2 separate regions of the Homo sapiens genome follow, and region 2 is linked to region 1. Evidence: promoter capture Hi-C in human tissues and cell types (Jung and others, 2019). All regions are on one chromosome and are shown on one strand. Each heading gives the region's core, a stretch centred on a gene start or on the middle of the fragment in contact. The rest is flanking DNA. Distances are from core to core; before and after follow the strand shown. Region 1 holds the start of GDNF (glial cell derived neurotrophic factor). Region 2 has its middle 7.1 kb from the start of LINC02117.

Region 1 (4,299 bases), core at 758-3,257:
CCGGTCAGCCTTCCTTCCACAGTAAATTCCCATTACTGAGGGTAAACCTCAGTGGTATCTGTTCCTTGCAACCCCCGCCCCCCGCCCAAAAAAAAAGCCCAATCAGCACAATGCCCAGGGCCTAGCACTTTGCCTGGCACACAGCAAGTGCTAGATATTTGCAGGTGCTTGGACGGGCTGATCATCCCCAGCAAAAAGCCCTCTAAAAATAAAGAAATCATTCAGAGTAAGAACATTGATGAGGGTCGTCTTCAAATTCCAAAAACAATGCTAAACGGCAATAAATATATTAAGCTTATTCTGCCCTCTAATTTCTGAATCTAACTACATTTCTACCATAAATCTATCAAAGAGGGAAATGTCATTTTCTGCAGAACTCCAGAGAGCATCCTAATTTCAGCTAAGGTATGTTTTGATGACTCGATTTTCACTTCGCTTAATCTTAAATCACAGCAACGTTAGTAAGAACAATTTTCCTCCCACACTCGCTTCACTGACAAACCTGCAAAGTAGCTGATCTTTGACTTTTAAGAAGTTTAATAATACATGATCTTCCCCCCACACTGCCACACGCATTTCCCCTGCCTATTGTCTGTATCAGCTACTTGAAGAACACATACTCCCCAACAACCGGATGAGTCATAAAATAAGAGGTACATGGACGTAAACTGAGCCTGTTTACACTTTCCCTGGCCCCAGCTAATAAAATAAAAGAGGTCCCACTGAATTCAGGTCCAATGGCTTCCGGAAAACAGGTTTCTGCTTAGCAAAGACATGCCCTATTTAGTACATTATTTTAGAGGTACAGCCAATTCCATGCCCCATGTGAATGAAATGTATTTATGGTTATAGCCATGCACAGGGTGTGTAAGGACTTGCCCTCCTCCTGTCCTCTACAAAAGAAGGCTCAGGCAGCTTCTGGTGGTGAACTAACCAACAAAAGGAATGCCCAGAAGGTCTCACCTCTCCCATCCACAGAGCTCTGGAATGGGGGCCGGGCCCCTGATCGCTGGAAACTCAGCATCCAAGTGGGCGCTTGCTGAAGTTTCCCATCTGCATTTTCGAAAATCTGGATAAAAGCAGGTTTAGCTCAACCTCCCCTAACCCGTTCCTGATAAAGTGATCTTACGCCTCTGGAATTGGGATTTTGAATGTATGTGCCTGCCCCATGTCTGGTATTAGATTACAACAGCATGAAAATGGAGCCTAGGACTGAGGAGCCGGCCAGCCTCAGAAGCCTTCTTCATTGCCTGCCATGTAATACATGATATGCAAAGCCTCTGACTTCAGCCAGCAGATATTTGGAGACCGTGTTGGCCTTAGCATGGGGACTAAACTAATGTGTGTTTAGGTCAGAAAGCGAATCAGAAAAGCCACTGGAGGGCACGTCACGGAGTGAGAGCCCTATAAATTCATCCCCACTCGCAGCGTCCCCTGGCAAATACTCGGCTTCCCTCACCCGGCCGCTCCGCACCTCTCCTTCTCGGTGCTAGAACTCCGGCCGGCAGCTCCTTTTCTCGCCACTGCCTCCTGCCCTGCGGAGAAGCGAGAGGGCGAGACACCCGAGCGGGAAGGCCGGCCTTCGACAGGCGCGAGGAAAGCCCGGCGCTGCCCTGCACCGGCAGAGCGCCACCCTCCCAGTGCGGCGCGCGGGGGCAAAGCCCGGCGCGGGCGCCGCGGTCAAGTTCGGATTGCCCCTTTCGGCTGGCCCGCGCAGAGCGCCGCACATTCCTCTCGATTTTTGATCCACCCGGAGAGGAGAAGGCGCTAGCCCCGCGGCGTCTCCGCGCTCTCAGCGCTCTCCCTGCAGCCCAGGGAGGGGCGCCTCGCGTCGCCCACTCGCACCCCGGCCCCCCGCCTCGGGAACTCCAGGGCCTCCTCGCTGCTCTCCTCTCCTCCCCCACCGCCAGGCCCAGCCGACGCCTCCCGACCCCTCCCTCCCGGGGCCCCGCGCCTCCCCTCCCCCACCCCGGACCCCGGACCCCCAGCCCGGGCTCTAGAAGACCAGCCTGCGCTCCTGGCGCCCTCATGTCTTCACGGGACTCCCCGCGCCGGTTGACGTGGTGTCTCGTTCGGATCTCCAGGCAAGACCTCAGCTCCGGCAGCAGCATCAGACAAACCAGTCTCGTGCTCCCAGGCAGTGCGCCCAGAGGAGGCGCAGAGCGCGGCAGCTGCCGCTGAGCCGCCCGCAGCGCCCCGGGCCCGCGCAGCCCCAGCCAAGAGCGCGACGCGCGCAGCCCTGTCAGCCCCCCACCCAAAGCAGCGGCGGCTGCTCGGACCTCGGCTTCTGGGGGTGCGGGGGCCCGGCGGGAGAGTTGCCGGCAGCCCTCGCCCTGTTGGCGGCGGCGGCGGCGGGAGTCTTGGCCGCCGCCTCCAGCGCGCCCTTGCTGCCCCGCGCGACCCCAGGATTGCGAACTCTTGCCCCTGACCTGTTGGGCGGGGCTCCGCGCTCCAGCCATCAGCCCGGATGGGTCTCCTGGCTGGGACTTGGGGCACCTGGAGTTAATGTCCAACCTAGGGTCTGCGGAGACCCGATCCGAGGTAAGTGAGGGAGCGGGCCGGGGAGCAGGGAGCGGGTGGTGCCTGCGTCGCGGGTGGGTGCGGCCGGCTGAAGGGCGCCCTAGTCAGAGGGGTGCGTCTGGACCCCAGAGCAAACGGTGAGAGTAGAAAGTGGAAAGACTAGAGGGAACCTAAGCTATGCGAGGAGAGAGAAAAGTAGAACCGGAGAGAGGCCGGCCTTTCGGAGGGGCATGTTGCCTTTTCCACGTGGGCAAAGATCTGTGGAGCCCCAGATGCGCCTGGACCCGGAATGCCCAAGAGGGGCAGTTTCCTTCCCCGACTCGGCCAGGTGCTCTTCCGTCAAGTCACAGAACGATTCAGGGCTTGGGTCATCTTCGAACCCACCGCCGTCGAAATGTGTCCTCTCTGGACGTGCAGAGATACTATCATTGCCAAGAGTGCAACTTACTATTGAGCTTGTTTTGATCTGTGCCAAGGAAAAGCGCAGGCCGGGGGAGGGGCTGCTGCAAAGGTGCTGAGAACCTAAAAATGGAGGGCTCACCTCCTCCGGGCGAGGTCTGGCAAAGCTACATTCCTCACCCGGTTGCCTGCACGTTCCTAACGCCCTCCACCCCAACTAACCATCCCCGTCGAGGTTAGGAGAGGGGCTTTCTTGCCAGTCCTGGATTCAAATCTCTGTCTCGAACGTATTCTTGAGACTCCACTAGGCCATTGAGGTTATTATTTTAATGACCCCTTTTTCTCCTGTACTCTGTGCCGCCTTCCAAAAACACCCCACCACCACTGCCACTACTTTACACCACCTCGAGGCTAATTCCGCACTGGTGGTTTGTTTCCTGCCCCAACGAAGAAAAACGAACCCTCTTCGGGCTGGAAACGGACTTTCGCGGGTTCCCGCCAGCTTCCTGGGGCCCAGCTAGTTTCGGCTTTGGTAGAATCCGCCGCCAGGACCCATGTGCGCGCCCCCGGGGGGCTTACCCATCCCAGAGCTCGCGACCCTTCTGCTCATAGGCGGGGACAAAGGCAACTCTTCCGGCCCCTGCTGCGGAGATGTTAGAACGCGCTCGACTCTTGCTCAGTGTTTGGAATATATGCTTAGGTATTTCAAGGAAGAGATGTTTCTTCCAACCTCATTCACGCACCCAGTCCCGCAAAGCCGTCAAAGCCGGCCTCGACCAAACTCGTACTGTTTCGCTGCGCCTTCGCTTTGTCAGGGAAGGTGGCGCCTTTTCAACAAGTAACAAGTGTCCGATCTCTGGGAAGTCCGCCGTGTCCCTAGCCCTTTCCCGCTAGCAATTCGGGTGCTCTCGGGCCTGGAACCTGGCCCTTTAAACAGACCGCTTTCCCAGTTTGCCTGCGAGAAGTGTCCCAAATTCTTTTTCCTTCCCTCATCTTGGGCCCCGCAGTTATGGGGGGTTGAGGGGAGAATAAGTCCTCTGTCAGTCAAGGACACGAAGCATAGTTAAGAAAAGCAATAGATCTTCCAGCAATTTCTGTCTCTACCTCCCCCCGCCAAAAAAAAAAAAAAAAAAACCGAGTTTATAGCAAACCCGTCTCCCCGCCCCACCGCCTCCTTTTTCTCTCTCTGAGACCTGGATCTTGAAGGCAAAGCCCAAACAAACCTCCCAGCCTGCCAGGCACAAGAAGGTGCGGGGGCACTGACGGCGGGAGCGCTGCCTCCTGCGAATCTGTCACGGTGACGCGTGGAAGGGGTGAGGGATGGTCTGAAAGCAGGTTGCCAAGAAACCCGCTCAGGTGAAGTGGGGAGAGGAAAACCAG
Region 2 (4,374 bases), core at 1,745-4,244, 73 kb before region 1:
GGGAATCAGGAACAATCCTAGAAGTCGGGGGGGGTGGGTGTGACAACCTTAGTTGTTATGCTTTAAACACCTTTGCAGGATTTTGAAAAAACAGGTTGTATGAGAAAGCCTGAGCCGTTTCTATTATAAACAGCTGCCTATTGTAACAACTAGATCCAGGATCTGACATTAATTATTGCCAATATAAAACAAATTTACTCTCAAATTTCAGTGAGGGTAGAGCAGGACATGGGAGGATGGGATCTCTAGCCCTCCTGATGGTCCTCCAAGTCACTTTTGAAAAAAAGGAAAACCTCTGTATTTCTGTTGGGTTTCTGAGCCCCATATTCCTTTCTAAATTAGTCAGGGAATATTTGAATCACTTGCAAATCTGGAGTAAGAAAAGCAATGTTTGCTTTAGACTTTAACATGCCCCTGGAGAGAACTATCTTCTCAGGTCAAAGAATGACATTAGGTTTGCATTAGCAAACTCTGTTGTCCAGTCAGCAAATTAAGAATTCTTAGGAAAGGATCTATTTCCTCCTCCACACTGGAACAAGGGTTCTTAATCCTTTCTGCATTTTAGAATTAGATCACAAAGTTCTTTAAGATATTCATACTGGGGCCCCACACCCAGCGACTCAGGTTCTGAAGTGAGACCTGGGCGTGGGTATGTTTGAAATGCTCCCCTGCTGATTCTAATGCGTAGCCAGGGTTGAGAACCACTGCACCAGAAATTCAAATAATGTGGTTAGAATCAACCCAATCACTTTGTGGTTGTTAAAGGAACACTCAAATACACAGAAAGTGGCTCAGTGAAGAAGAAATAGCACAGGGCTAAAAATGAACAAGTCCAGGGTTCTAGTCCTACTTCTGCCATGTGGCATACATCGTCAGAAAAGCTATTGAACAATCTGGATGTCAGAGGGTTAGAACAGATGGCCTCTGGGCTCATTCATCCCCCTGACATTCTCTATCCACTAAAATAGGGGAGCTGTGTCATAGGATTTTCACTTTGGCACCCAGTAAGGAAGCTACCTGTAGGGCCTGAGGGTGTGTTTTCATAAGAATGGCAGCATGGCTGTTGTTGCTTGCAACTAACCAAACGGCTGGTAAATATCTTGATAAGGAATGCCTAAGCAAAACAAGGCTGGGCGAAATGATTTGCCCAAAATAAAGCCTCTGTGTGGGATGGTCAGGTTCATAGGCAGTGCCAGCCTTTCCCAGCTCTCACACCTGACTTCAGCGTCCTGATTCTCTCACCTCACAATAATGCAGCAGAACAAATGTTCTTTAAAACCCTGAAATTTCTCATGGTTCCTGACAAAACAATAAAGCAATCAAAGGTCAATTAAGAAATGTATTCTAAAATCAGCTGGGCGTGGTGGCTCACGCCTGTAATCCCAGCACTTTGGGAGGCCGAGGCAGGTGGATCACTTGAGGTCAGGGTTCCAGGCCAGGCTGACCAACACAATGAAACCCCATCTCTACTAAAAATCCAAAAATTAGCTGAGTGTGATGGTACATGCCTGTAATCTCATCTACTCAGGAGGCTGGGGCACAAGAATCACTTGAACCTGGGAGGCAGAGGTTTCAGTAAGCTGAGATCACGCCACTGTACTCCAGTTTGGGCAACAGAGTGAGACTCTGTCTCAAAAAAAAAAAGTATTTTAAAATCAAATAATGTTTAACTGCCTGATCTTTTGAGTTATTAACAGTAAGGGTACCTACCAAGAAGACTGACAATTAGTGGTCAGTGGCATCAAAACTCTCATTATAAGTCTATATTTTCTTACTGTCCTGGCCCTCAATCCTGAACAACCCCCTCCTCTCCCTCTGCCCCCCACCCCACTCCCTACTCGCACATTGACACCAGATCAGGGATCCAAAGGAACAGAGAGAACACAATGGAAAACAATGCATCGTGGATGGAGAATGGATGGCGTGGGCTGGCGGTCCAAGGAAAAAAAAAAAAAAAGCCCAGAAAATGTCTGTCCTTCCAAAGAGAACACGTTTACAAAAAAATCTTCCCAAAGAGCAAAGCCAAGACAAGGGTTCATCCTGATGCACCTCAAGGGGCAAGGCCACTAAAGGAGTCAGAACAGGCTCCGGAGGCAATCGCAGTCTCCATGGATTGCACGAGAGACATTTCCAGCCCATCTCCCATCTCCAAGTGTGCCTCTGGGGGAAGCTGGAGAGGAAGAAATGTGGAACTGCCAGTGACAGCAGAGGCTTTTGATTAAGGAAAACAAATGAAGTGGAAGCTTTGTCTTTCAAATTCCCCAAAACAGTTTTCCAAAAGAATAACGTACATTAAAAAAAAATGGAGTAGAAATGTTCAGTGCTTCAGCCTGGAAGGCCAGATGGGGAAGGCAAATAAATCAATGCTTTCAACAAGAAGGGCAGTGCTGCCAAGCTAGACAGGGAACGGGATTCTCTGTTGTCCTTATCTCTTCTCATCCAATGACAGAAGTTACGAACTGTATGGAAATAGATGGTAGAATGAATCAATTACATCCACTTGTTAACCCTTTTCCAAATACGTACTATAGCTGGTTTAGCAAATCTGGTCTCTTGCCTATGCCGGTCCCATCTGATAAGCGCCTTCTTATTCCTCAGGGTCCAGCTCAAACGCCCCCTCCTCCGTGAGGCCTCCCTGGACTCCCCCAGGTAGTGCCTACAGCCCCTTCCCCTTTGTTCCCATGGCCTTCATGCATACTCTCCAAAGACTTAGTGTCATATTGTCATCTATTTATGCATCTGTCTCAAGTAAACTGGAACTCCTGGAAGGTAAAAGCCAGATCTTGCTCATTTTCTCATCTATAGCACCTAAAAAAATGCCTACAAGGAAACAGGTGGATGGACAGATGCACAGATGCCGGGGGAGCCATAGGGGCCACTGTTCTGAAAAGGCATCTTTGTCAACAGGAGAGCTGCCCACCCATGAGACAGACTCCTATAGGCAGAGTCATCCTTTCTGGAAGTTTGGAAGGGCTGTCAGCAAGATCTCTGCCAGTCTCCTCTGTGTCTCTATTTATACCTTGGGGCCAGGAGACAGGAGGAGGCTATCTGAACTCAAGGATAATGGTCAGCAAATAATACGCCCTCCATTTATTCTTGGCAAAGATCCCCAGAGGTTAGGTTTCCTCTAGAAAGTAGCCACTTACAGAGGGAAATTCCACTTTTTAAATTCTGTTATTTTCAAAGGAATTGACAGAAGCTTTAAATATCTTCTTGATAGTCTTTAAGTCACCAAAACTCACCCGTAAGCAAAAAGACTACAGGCACTGCAAAAGCTGCTGACTCAAAAAATTTCAGGAGGTTAATAGAAAGGAAACACCAAAACAAAAAGAAAAACTGAAGGGGTACAAGAGCACGGATTTTTTTTTTTTTAATCAGGAGAGAGGATGTAAAATCATCAGCCTATTCAAGTATTTTATTTTTTGCAGGGATTTTGCTCACTCCTTTTTGTGGTTTTTAAATTTTTAATTTTTGTGGGTATATAGTAGGTGTATATTTATGGTATACGTGAGACGTTTTGATACAGAACCGCAATGTCTAATAATCACATCATGAAAGATGAGCTATCCATTCCCTTAAGTCTTTATCCTTTGTGTTACAAACAATCCAATTATACCCTTTTATTTTTAAATGTACAATTAAATTTTTGACCAGTCACCCTGTGGTGCTATCTAATACTAGGCCTTATTCATTCAATTTTTTTGTACCCATTAACCATCCTCCCCACCCTCCCAACTACCCTGCCCAGCCTCTGGTAACCATCCTTCTACTCTCTATCTCCATGGGTTCAATTTTGATTTTTAGATGCCACAAATAAGTGAGAACACGCGACATTTGTCTTTCTGTGCCTGGCTTTTTCACTTAATATAATGATCTCCACTTCCATCCATGTTGTTGCAAAGACTGAATATCCTTCTTTTATTATAGCTGAATGTATTCCATTGTGCATAAGTATATTTTCTTTATCCATTCACCTGTGGATGGACACTTAGGTTGCTTCCAAATCTTGGCTATTATGAACAGTGTTGCAACAAACATGGGAGTGCAAATCTCTCTTCAATATATTGATTTCTTTTGGGTATATAGACAGCAGTAGGTTTGCTGGATCGTATGGTAGCTGTTTTTAGTTTTTTGAGGAATCTCCAAACTGTTCTCCATAGTGGTTGTACTAATTCACATTCCCGCCAACAGTGTATGAGAGTTCCCTTCTCTCCACATCCTCACCAGCATTTGTTATTCTCTGCCTTTTGGTAAAAGCCATTTTAAATGGGGTGAGATGATATCTCATTGTAGTTTTTATTAGCATTTCTCTGATGATCAGTGATGTTCAGCACCTTTTCATATGCCTGTTTGCTATTTGCATGTCTTTTGAGA

Evidence for each region. The method cuts DNA at HindIII sites, captures the fragments that hold promoters and counts their contacts. A contact is called where the count stands out against the background at its distance.
Region 2: a contact is called between a fragment that was not itself captured here and the fragment with the promoter of GDNF in region 1, in 2 of the 25 tissues and cell types used here (dorsolateral prefrontal cortex and mesenchymal stem cells).

Annotation. Positions count from the first base shown.
Region 1 is chr5:37,837,749-37,842,047 of GRCh38, reverse strand. It overlaps GDNF (glial cell derived neurotrophic factor), which reads left to right and starts at 2,007. Exons shown (of 3, transcript NM_000514.4): 1 at 2,007-2,541. It overlaps GDNF-AS1 (GDNF antisense RNA 1), which reads right to left and starts at 2,164. Exons shown (of 4, transcript NR_145476.1): 1 at 2,010-2,164. RefSeq lists an enhancer at 2,146-3,083. The HindIII fragment of the contact is 15,271 bases long and covers 1-4,299 here.
Region 2 is chr5:37,911,615-37,915,988 of GRCh38, reverse strand. No RefSeq gene overlaps it. Among named protein-coding and RNA genes, the nearest start is that of LINC02117, 7.1 kb to the left of the region's middle. The HindIII fragment of the contact is 5,293 bases long and covers 348-4,374 here.